2 separate regions of the Homo sapiens genome follow, and region 2 is linked to region 1. The links are contacts of gene promoters, found by promoter capture Hi-C in blood cells and fetal thymus (Javierre and others, 2016). All regions are on one chromosome and are shown on one strand. Each heading gives the region's core, a stretch centred on a gene start or on the middle of the fragment in contact. The rest is flanking DNA. Distances are from core to core; before and after follow the strand shown.

Region 1 (5,184 bases), core at 2,563-5,062:
CAACTACCAGAAGCTAGGAAGAGGTAAGGAATGGTCCTCCCACAGAGTCTTCAGAGACAGCATGAGCCTTCGGACATCTTGATTTCAACTTCTAACCTCCAGAACTGGAAGAGAATACGTTTCTGTTGTTTTAAGTTAACAGGCATGTTGTAGTTTGTTACTGTAGCCAAAGGAAACTAACACACCATCTCTATGAAATCACATGGACGGCTCATCTTCGGAGCTGTGGCAGAGTGTATGCAAATACCTGGAAATAAAATCAATGCAACCAGATCCACGTACTAGGGCTGGAATGCTTCCTGGAAATATTACGCATAGTTTGTGACTTACCTGGAAGGCAGATCTTAAATCCTCTCTTCCCCCTGATTATTCAAGCTCGAAAATTTATTATGTTCTATTATCTCTCTCACTCATTTGGCCTTGAGTTGCTGGTTATAAAACAAATGTTTTAACTGTATAAATGAATTAAAAATCCTCACATTCTCATAACTATTTAATTACTATCAAGTATTGGGTATTATGCCAAGCACTCAACAATTATTGTCTCATTTAACAATGAAAACCCCCAGTAAAATAGGTTATTGTCCATTCTTAGTGGTAAGGAGTTGTAGTTCAGAATTTAAGCAGACTTTCAGTTGGTAGTTGCTTAATAAATATTTACTGATGGATTTTTCCAAGGCACTGAGTTGGTAATAGGCCAATTCCATGGTTGCACCACAAATTATGTAAAGTAGCTACTCTTATTTTAACTAATGCTCTGGAATTTCTGGCACTCCTTGCCCTTACAAATGTCTGAATTAGCAATGAAACTAGCATGAACTCTTAAGAGGTTGCCACCATAGCTGAGCGTGGAGCAATGTGCCAAAGTAAATGTGATGTGGATTCTTAACAAGGATCGTGCAGCAAGAGCAAGTTTCTGGTAAGTCTACAGATTTCATAGTTGGAAATATGTAGGGCCTTCTTATGCTATATCCACAAAGACTATATTATAAATGATATCGTTAATTCTCAAAGATTTTTAAATAAAATATGTTCAAGGAACAAGTTCCATTTAAAATAAACACTGAAATTCTGTATGGTTCATAATGTTGAAACGCAAACAACCCACCAACAATGATATTCTCCCTATCTTCTATATGATAGTTTTATTGGCACTTCTGAAATGTTGGAAGAGAATTACCAAAGCTTTAAAAAGTAAACAATGTATAGTGCTTCTTAGGAGTATATAGAGATTTTTAGACATGTCTTATTCATATTTATGCCCCCAGATCTTAGCAGAGTGTTTGGCATATAACAGATACTCAATAGATGTTTGGTAAGTGAATGCCAGAGCTAAAATATATAAATATATTTTTGATGTCAAATTCGAAGATGTTTGTCTTAAGGACTAACACGGCAAACAGGTTCCTGGTTGGCTTCTGTGTGTCAAGAAGACAGCCTGTGATATATTTACCTTCTGCATTTACAACCATAGTTCCAATAACCCCTTTATGACTCTGGATCCTCTTTAAGGTTTCCTCCACCTCTGCCTGAAAGAGACCAGGAAGATAATTAACCAAAAGGGCCCTGTGGTAACTTCAACCCTAAGGAGAATAATGTTTAGCAAGATACCTACTCTCCTATCTCCTTAACCTAAGGTGCCAGGTGTGATAATCTCAGATTTTTAAAAGACAGCTTAGAAATTGTCAAGTCCCACATAAATACCTACGTAAGACCTCCTGGATACAATCCTGATGAATCTCTTGGCTTGAACCCTTGTAGAGACAGAGAGCTTACTGCCTCACAGGAGTTCACTCCATTTTTATCTGTTTCCATTTACTAGAAAAGTATTCTTTACATTGCATGGAAATTTGTCCCAGATTATCTTTCATTCATTGACCCTGCTGTATTCAAATGAAAATTCCTTTTCTACATTACAGTGCTTTAAATATTTATAGAGCTATATCATGGCCTCCCTCTGTCTAAAAGTAGTCCTTATTGAGAAATCTTATTTTCATTAATGTGACCTAATCAGTTCGGATGATTAAATTTAAAGGATAGTCTATAAAAACAAAGTATTCCAGGATTCTAGGATTTTCTTGATAACTATAGCTTGCGTCTCAGTGCAAGCTGAATGTTCAACTATGAGTGATTATTCTGGAATCTATTATTGTGTTTTAAACTCATTCGGAATCTTATGTGTAGAGTGTATTGTATGTTTTCTTCCCCTGTAGAAAACTCAAAGACAAGAACGATCTTTTCCAAACCTGCAAATTTTTCATGACTGAGCAATCACTGGATATTTTGAATTCTGCAAATTCTCTTGATGAGGGTTTGCTATATTCTTTTTTCCTCAGTATTGCACAGGTGAACATTTTGTTACTTCAAGATAGTTTTCCTTTGTACTTGGTATGGGCAGGAGCACTTATTTTCTCTATTTCAGCATCAGAGCCAAGGTTTTCTTGACTTTAGGCATTTGTGTACTAGATTCATGATTCTTGCCATTATGAATGCCATGTATACTATTTATCTAGGTGTTCTTTAAATTATCTCACTGCTAAAAGCTTAAATAAATGCATTTTAAGAGGAAATCGTATGTCACTACCACAAATGGAAACCTGACGTTATTCCTCATAAATAGAAATAACTGTAAAACAAACAAAATGAACAAAATGAAGAGAGAGCCTATCATTAAATTCTACTGCAATGAAAGCTCTGAGCCTGAGGCCTGCTCTTCGGATGAAAAAATGGAAATTTCCAAATGACAGTGGTATTAAGGACCTAATAGCAACAGAAATTTTCTCCTGTATGTAGTCTGAAGGTTGAACAAAATGGAAGAGGAATAACTTTCTCACGATGTGATTCACTCTTATTTAGCATTTCTCGGCCATCTTATGTAGCAACGAATGTTTGCATCTGACTTTGAGAAACACTACACTAAACCGTAAGCGTTGAACAGGGGATCAATAATTCACTGCATTTTGGGCAATCTTTAAGACGATGTCCACAGCTTCTTACAGCCACTGTGTCCTTATTTATCTTTCTCCCTTTACTTATCTCCCAAACTCCTTTCTTTTCTTTCCCTGGCCTTTCCATTTCTCCACCCAGTTGTTTCTCTTCTCATGATTTGTAAGTGCTCCTAGTATAATTTCTTAATCCCCATCTCCAATCCCCGTTTCATTCTTCTCTTAACGCCCTTTGCTTTCCACAGTCTCTACTTTTTTTTTTCTTACCTCTTTTTCTGGGGGGGAGGGGGGCGGGTCTCCCATCACTTCTTTCCTTTTTCTTTATTTCCCTTTCTTCTTTCTCAGTATCTTCCCTTCTCACCCTTCCATTCCCTTGCTTTCCCTGTCCCACCTCTTCCTTCTCTCTAAGGGTCTGATTTTTTTTCCTCTCCATCTCGGCCTCCCGCCCCCTCTTTGGAAACTTTCCTGGCTCCCCGGATTTCTCACTCCCCTGAGCATTCTTCATCCTCTGAATCTCTCTCTTCCCTTTCTCAACATCACCCCTCCTTATGTACCATCCCCGCGAAATCAATTCCCAAAACAGCTTCCAGTCATCTAGACATCTTCTTGCCCCTTTCCAAGGTCTCCCTCTCGCCCCTCCAGGAAGATCCTGGAGCCACCAGCCTCCGCCGCGGCCCCTGGACCGCCCGTGCCTGGGTGGGCCCCAGAAGCTGGGTGCGAAGGTCCTTGACGGTCGGCGTGCTTGGAACGGCGGGGCGTGGACGGAGACCCCAGATTTACCATCGCGGAGGCCGCGAAACTCTGGGCTCAGGCCGGCGGCACAGCCTCCCGGGATGTCAACAACGCTACCCGCCGTTGCTAGGAGACAAAAAAGGAAGTGGCCCCACGGAAGCGTCAGGGCTGCGCCTGCGCGCTCGCGAGTCGGCTTTTTCGCCCTGACCGCGCTCCTGATGCCTCCCGGCCGCCGTAGGCGAAGGTTCGCGGAAGAGGGGAGCAGGCGCTCACCTGAGGTTCGCCCAATCCTGGAGCAGTGGGTCCCGGGAGGGAAGAGGGAAGTGGGTCAGGCTCCCGGCCTGTGTTTGTCCATTCATTCATTCATTGAGGCACGAATTAATGTGATAACCACTTATTCGTTCAAAAACTGCTGATTCACCACCCACCAGGTGCCAGGGAGACGGACAAAATGCACCAAACAAAATGCACGAAACAGTACCGGAAGCAGTAATGTCCACGTGTGATACTTGCCCTGGAGCAAGTAAGGAGGGGACAGGACCATCTGACTTCGGGGTTGGGCTGCTCTAGGGGTTTGGTGATAGTCTTAGCTGCCTGTGACCGTCCATTAGTACTGCCCTGTTCAGGGCAGATACTGTTCGCTCGCCTCCCAGTAGTTTTTATATTGAAGAAAAATATATCAGAGCATCAAATAGTACAACCTTATGTACTTAAAAAAATTACTTTCTATCTGTCTACTCTAAGATCAGTAGAGTAAGCACAGTTGCACATTTTATGTTCTCACCTAGTTATAGCACCCTCTTCCTGTTCTCAACTCCATTGAAGAGTTGCTACTTGTCAGTATTTCTGTTAGTTGTCAGTATCCATTAGGATCTGTATTTTTGCCATTTTAAAAATCAACAGTTCTGAGTTACTAAAAAATTGCAAATGGTAGTTCCGGAGGTTCTATACGTTGCCATAGAAGAGCATTCCATTGGGTGTTTAAGGAACTGTTGGAGGAAACACGTTAAAGATCAGTTAGGAATGATCAGAAGTCACTTGACCTTTTGAGGGACATTGATAATATCCTTATAGCCTAGGAGGAAAAGAGCCACTATTGTACGACGAAGCACAGCAGGAAAATTTTATGGCTGGAGTCGTGTTATGACTTCCTGAGGTTAGAGGAGGACAAATATTGATTACAAAATACAAGCTGTAAGTTGGGAATGCATCTTCATAGGGATCATGCCATAACAACTTCCTGTAATACCGATTCTGTTTGTGCATCCATTTCCAGAAAGTAGTCTCACACTGAACAAGGCATACATCGTGCTAGGAATGTCAACTGGATTCTGAATGGTCCATGTTAGGGGTGCTCTGGGACAGTTTTGAACTCATTGGCAGGCTTGGACTCGATGATCCATTTCAACTCCACATCTGTCATTTTATTATATTAACTACAGAAATACTCTGAGAAACTGTAGTTCTGCTCTAATTTTTGTTGAGGTGTGGGTGATTCTGATCACTG
Region 2 (5,692 bases), core at 2,878-5,377, 2.8 Mb after region 1:
CCTGTCATTTGTGACAACATGGATGAACCTGGAGGAAATTATGTTAGGTAAAATAAGCCAGTCACAGATGCCACATGATCTCATTCATATGTGGAATATTAAAAAGTCAGTCTCAGAGAAGTAGAGAGTAGAATGGTGGTTACTAGCTGCTGAGGTGGTTTGGGGGGAGGTTGGGGAGATGTTGGTCAAAAGATAAAAAGTTTCAGCCAGTCAGGAGGAATAAATTCGAGAGATGTATTGTATACTATGGTAACTATAGTTAACATACTGTATTCTTGAAAATTGCTGAATGGATATAAAGTGTTCTTAGTGCAAAGATGATGACTATGTGAGATAGTATGTTATGTGTGGTGACATGTTACCATATGAGGTATGTGTGTTAATATGTTACTATGTGAGGTAATGTGTGTGGTGATATGTTACCATATGAGGTAGTATATGTGTTAATATGTTACTATGTGAGGTAATGTGTGTGGTAATATGTTACTATGTGAGTTAGTACATTGATTAGCTAGATTTAGTCATTCCATAGTGAATATATACTTCAAAACATCATGTTGTACAGGATAAATCTATACAATTTTATCTGTTGATTTAAAATTTATTTATTTATTTATTTATTGAGATAGAGTCTCGCTCTGTTGCCCAGGCTGGAGTGCAGTGGGATAATCTCGGTTCACTGCAACCTCTGCCTTCTAGGTTCAAGCGATTCTCCTGCCTCAGCCTCGCGAGTAGCTGGAACTACAGGTGTGCACCACCACACCCAGCTAATTTTGCATTTTTAGTAGAGATGGGGTTTCACCATGTTGGCCAGGCTGGTCTCAAACTCCTGACCTCAGGTGATCCCCACACCTTGGCCTCTCAAAATGCTGGGATTACAGGTGTGAGCCATGCCTGGCCTAAATTTTTTTTTAAAGAAAATATGCTATTTTGAAGAAAATATGTATGATGACATGTTACTATATGATGTATATGGTGATATGTTACTATGTGAGGTAATATGTATAGTAATATGTTACTATGTGAGGTATTGTGTGTGGTGATATGTTACTATGTGAAGTAGTATGTTACTATGATGTGAGGTAGTAAATTAATTAGCTAGATTTAGTCATTCCACAGTGAATATATACTTCAAAGCATCATATTGTACAGGATAAATCTCTACAAGTTAAATCTATTTAAATCTAAAAAGATAAATCTATTTAATTTTGTTTTTAAAAAAGAAAATATTACGCTGTTTTGAAGAAAACAGGCACATTTCTAAAACTGACTAATCAAAAACTATTAGCACTGCAAAGGGCTCTAAGCACAAAAGCGGTCAGTTATTTTTTTGATAAATAGTATACATTTCTTATTCAATAAAACCTTCTGAAATGCTACTCAGAGGCCAAGTAAAGCTGCAGCCTAATTTCCTAAGACTTCAATCTTTGCTTTGTTCCTGAATTTTCTCTTGCCTACTTCCAGTCCCAGAGAATGGGGTGCAGGGAGGAGGGTGGAGGAGGGTAGAAGAGGGGACAGAGGAGGGATGCGAGGTCAAGGGTGTGGGGGAGAAGAGCAGGACCGATAATGCAGAGCAGCTAATTCCTGAAAACTATAAAGTGGGTGGCTTTGAAGGCCTGAAGGGCTGTGCCCAGGTGTGCAATGGAGAAAGGGGTTTGCCAGCTCTTTGCTGGGCACCAGGGATCTAGGGTTCTGAGAGGAGTCCCTTATCCAAGGTGGACCCGGACAAGGAGATAACGAAAACATAGGTAGCATCCAACAGCATGCAGCACTATGGCATGCCAGCAGCCGTGCTGGGCGTTTTACAGATCTCTTTCAGGCTCAGAACAACCTTGCACATGAGGCGCTGTTTTCAGGCCCATTTTAGGGATGAGAAAACCGAGGTGATTAAGAGATTTACGAACTTTGCAGGCTGGGCGTGGTGGCACACGCTTGTCATCTCAGCACTTTGGGAGGCCAAGATGGGCAGATCACCTGAGATCAGGAGGTCAAGATCAGCCTGGCCAACCAACATGGTGAAACTCCCTCTCTACTAAAAATACAAAAATTAGCCAGGCGTGGTGGCGTGCACCTGTAATCCCAGCTAATTGGGAGGCTGAGGTGGGAGAATTGCTTGAACCCAAGAGGCGGAGGTTGCAGTGAGCTGAGATCACGCCACTGCACTCCAGCCTGGGCGACAGAGCGAGAATCCTTCTGAAAAAAAAGAAAAACTTGTTCGAGGTTCCAGAGCTAGTGGGAGATTGCACATTTGAGAAGGGTTAACCCACTTCTTGCCTTGCTTTCCCCATCCACTGGGGGGAAATCTCCTACCAGCGCCCTGCTTGTGTGAGGGGCAGAGCTCCAGTAGAGCTCCAGAGGGAATTTCTCACCCCTACAGCCAGATAGTGTTTACAATCAGATTGAATTAAATTTAAATAGTTTTTAAAAAGTGACCTTAATAATCAACAGGCAAAAGTGGCTCTGGGTGAAACAAAAGAAACTAGAGACCCCGTTGGTTGAGTTTGTAGTATTGTCTAGATTTCCTATATTATTGTTTGTTAGACAATTCTCTTTTATTTATTTATTTATTTTTATTTATTTATTCATTATTGAGATGGAGTCTTGCTCTGTTGCCCAGGCTGGAGTGCAGTGGCACGATCTCGGCTCAATGCAACCTCCACCTCCCAGGTTCAAGTGATTCTCCCTGCCTCAGCCTCCCCAGTAGCTGGGATTACAGGCACCCACCACCACGCCTGGCTAATTTTTTGTATTTTTAGTAGAGACAGGGTTTCGCCATGTTGGCCAGACTGGTCTCGAACTCCTGACCTCAGGTGATCCGCCCACCTCAGCCTCCCAAAGTGCTGGGATTACAGGCGTGAGCCACCGCACACGGCCATATCTGATAATTTTAAAAAATATATGTAAGTGCTTCTCCTGTGCTTATTGGCAGAGGTGGGAACAGACACTGGTCCCCTGGTTTCCATTTAAGTATTTCCCCCTGGAACCTGGATTTCTATCATGTCCTGAGTTCACGGCATTTCTGCCTGGCTCAGACCGAACACAATCCACACAAGTCTACTTCCACGTCCACAAAACTCCAGCTGATTCCTTGGCATTTTTTTTTTAAACAAAATACTTTTCATTATTCTGCTTAAAAAGCCTGTTAATATGGCTTATTTTCTTTTTGTACTTGGATAAGCTTAAAATGACTGCTTCACCAGCTTTTCCTTGGAAGTTCCCCACAGCAAGGGAAACTGACTGTGCTCACGGGTGTGGGGGTGGTAGAGTTTCGATATTTGTCCTTGCCCAAATCTCATGTTGAACTGGAGTCCCCAGTGTTGGAGGTGGGGTCTGGTTGGAGGTGACTGGATCACAGGGGCAGATTTCTCACGCATGGTTTAGCACCATCATCTTGGCACTGTCCCCATGATAGTGAGTGAGTTCTCATGAGATCCGGGGCCATTTAAAAGTGTGTGGTATTTCCCTGCTCTCTCTCTTGCTCCTGCTCCCCCTCTGCCATGATGGTACACTCCCTGAGGCCTTTCCAGAAACTGAGCAGATGCCTGTGTCATGCTTCCTGTACAGCCTGCAGAACCATGACTCAATGAAACCTCTTTTCTTTATAAATTACCCAGACTCAGATATTTCTTTTTCTTTCTTTCTTTCTTTTTTTGAGATGGAGTCTCGCTGTTCCTCAGGCTGGAGCGCAGTGGCACAATCTCGGCTCACTGCAACCTCCGCCTCCTGGTTTCAAGTGTTTCTCCTGCCTCAGCCTCCTGAGTAGCTGGGATTACAGGTGTGTGCCACCATGCCTGGCTAATTCTTTTGTATTTTTAGTAGAGATGGGGTTTCACTATGTTGGTCAGGCTTGTCTCGAACTGCTGACCTCGTGATCCTCCCACCTTGGCCTCTCAAAGTGCTGGGATTACATGCTTGAGCCACCATACCCAGCCTCAGGTATTTCGTTATAGCAATGCAAGAATGGACCAATACAAGGGGTGAGCCAGAAACTCCATTCCCAGCCCATTATTTCTGTAAAGTGACATCATTTATCTTAAAACTTCAGGTCATGTCTGACAGGTCACTTGACACTAACGATGACAGCTAAAACTTACTGAATTCTTCCTTGCCAAGTACCTGGGTTATATAGGTGCTTTACATTTGTTACCCTGTGAAATGTTCATAGCAGCTGTATGAAGCAGTTACTAATATTTTGTCCTCATTTTACAAGTGAAAAGACTGAAGTACAGAGAGGGCAAGTAACGAGGCCAAAGTCACAGCTGGCAAGGAGAGAGCCTGGATTCAACGTGGACAGCTAGCTTTAGAGCCTAGGCCGTTAACTTCTATGCTCTAGTATTTTCACATTATACTGGGGGTGGGATAGTCTAAAACAGTGGCCCTTGGTGGGGGGCAATTTGGCACCCCCAATCCTGCCAGGATAGTAGGCAATTCTGAAGACATTTGTGGTGTGTGTGCTACTGGCATACTGGACAAAGGGACAAAGGTGTGTGTGAGCTTGTGTTTGTGTGTGCTACTGGCATCTGGTGGGTAGAGGCCAAGGATGATGGTAAACACACCACATTATACAGGACAGCCTCCACACCAAAGAATTATTCAGCCCCAAATGCCAATAGCACCAAGGTTAGGTAACCCTAGTGTGAAAGCGTTTTAAACTGCTTGCTAGCTAAATTCCTTCATTTTCTTGTTAAACCTTCTCCAAGAAACACCATGTTATCCTGTGGCTTGTGGTTGTATGCCTCTGACATCACAATTTTGAAAGCCCTTTTGAGAATTTTGGCATCAAAGTGTGTGCAAGTGACAAAATCTCGTGAGGTCTTCTGATGTCCTGAGGTTTAAGGGCAGGAAATTTTTTGTCCACCTACCTTCTCTGACCGGACGGTGAACAACAAATGGAGTTTTCCTTCTTTAGCCACCAATGGCAAAAGGACGGAGTATTTGTTATATGGCAAGTGAGAATATTTGCCTCCAATATCATACTTTCTTAAGCGGGCCTTAGCATCATCTAGCAAACTGTTTCTAAAATAAAAACAAACCAGACAGACATTTTAGCAAGCAGAGTTATGGTAAAAAGCTTATAGTCCTGCCTCTGTTTCTGCTTTGTTGTGTATTTAGGAGTTTGCCATTTCTGACTCTCTGTGTATTTTTCAATAACACGACAGAAATGATACTATCTAAATTGCGTGGTTGTTCGCAAGATGAAAATGACAAAAAAACCTTCTAAGCACACAGTTTAGTACACAGGTTCTCTTTGAAACATAAAGTATGGTAAAATGTTTTTTCAATAATGCAACAGTTGAATTTTGAAACCCATAATTATATTCAGAGAAGACAGGTTTGATGAAAAAGTCATTGTTAAGGTTAGAAGGTTAGAAGACTACCTTCTGTTAAGCTGGCCCTTATGTTCTCAAACTCTTATGTCTTCAACTGCTTATAATAGTGGTTCCCAAGCTTTAGCAGCAACAGAATCACCTGGAGCGCTGGCTGTCACATAGACTGCGAGGTTCAGTCCCAGACTGTGACTCAGTAACTCTGGTGTAGGGCCTGAGAATTAGCATTTGTATCAAACTCCCTCATGACAGCGTTACTGACGCTGTGGACAGGGGAACACATTCTGAGAACAATTTCCCAATAATATGCAAGCATTTGGATTTAAAACCGCAAATGGTGCCCTTCCTATGTGGACTTGTTTTGG

Evidence for each region. The method cuts DNA at HindIII sites, captures the fragments that hold promoters and counts their contacts. A CHiCAGO score of 5 or more calls a contact.
Region 2: a fragment that was not itself captured here is called in contact with the fragment with the promoter of DYNLRB2 in region 1 in 2 of 17 cell types (naive B cells and total B cells); the score reaches 6.4 in naive B cells.

Annotation. Positions count from the first base shown.
Region 1 is chr16:80,539,621-80,544,804 of GRCh38, reverse strand. DYNLRB2 (dynein light chain roadblock-type 2) reads right to left here and starts at 3,812. Exons shown (of 4, transcript NM_130897.3): 1 at 3,726-3,812; 2 at 1,454-1,529. The coding sequence starts at 3,728. All of the region lies in intron 1 of DYNLRB2-AS1 (DYNLRB2 antisense RNA 1), which reads left to right. RefSeq lists an enhancer at 3,672-3,761. The HindIII fragment of the contact is 6,420 bases long and covers 2,546-5,184 here.
Region 2 is chr16:77,724,755-77,730,446 of GRCh38, reverse strand. NUDT7 (nudix hydrolase 7) reads right to left here. Exons shown (of 4, transcript NM_001105663.3): 2 at 4,863-5,016. Among named protein-coding and RNA genes, the nearest start is that of NUDT7, 5.1 kb to the right of the region's middle. The HindIII fragment of the contact is 1,893 bases long and covers 3,181-5,073 here.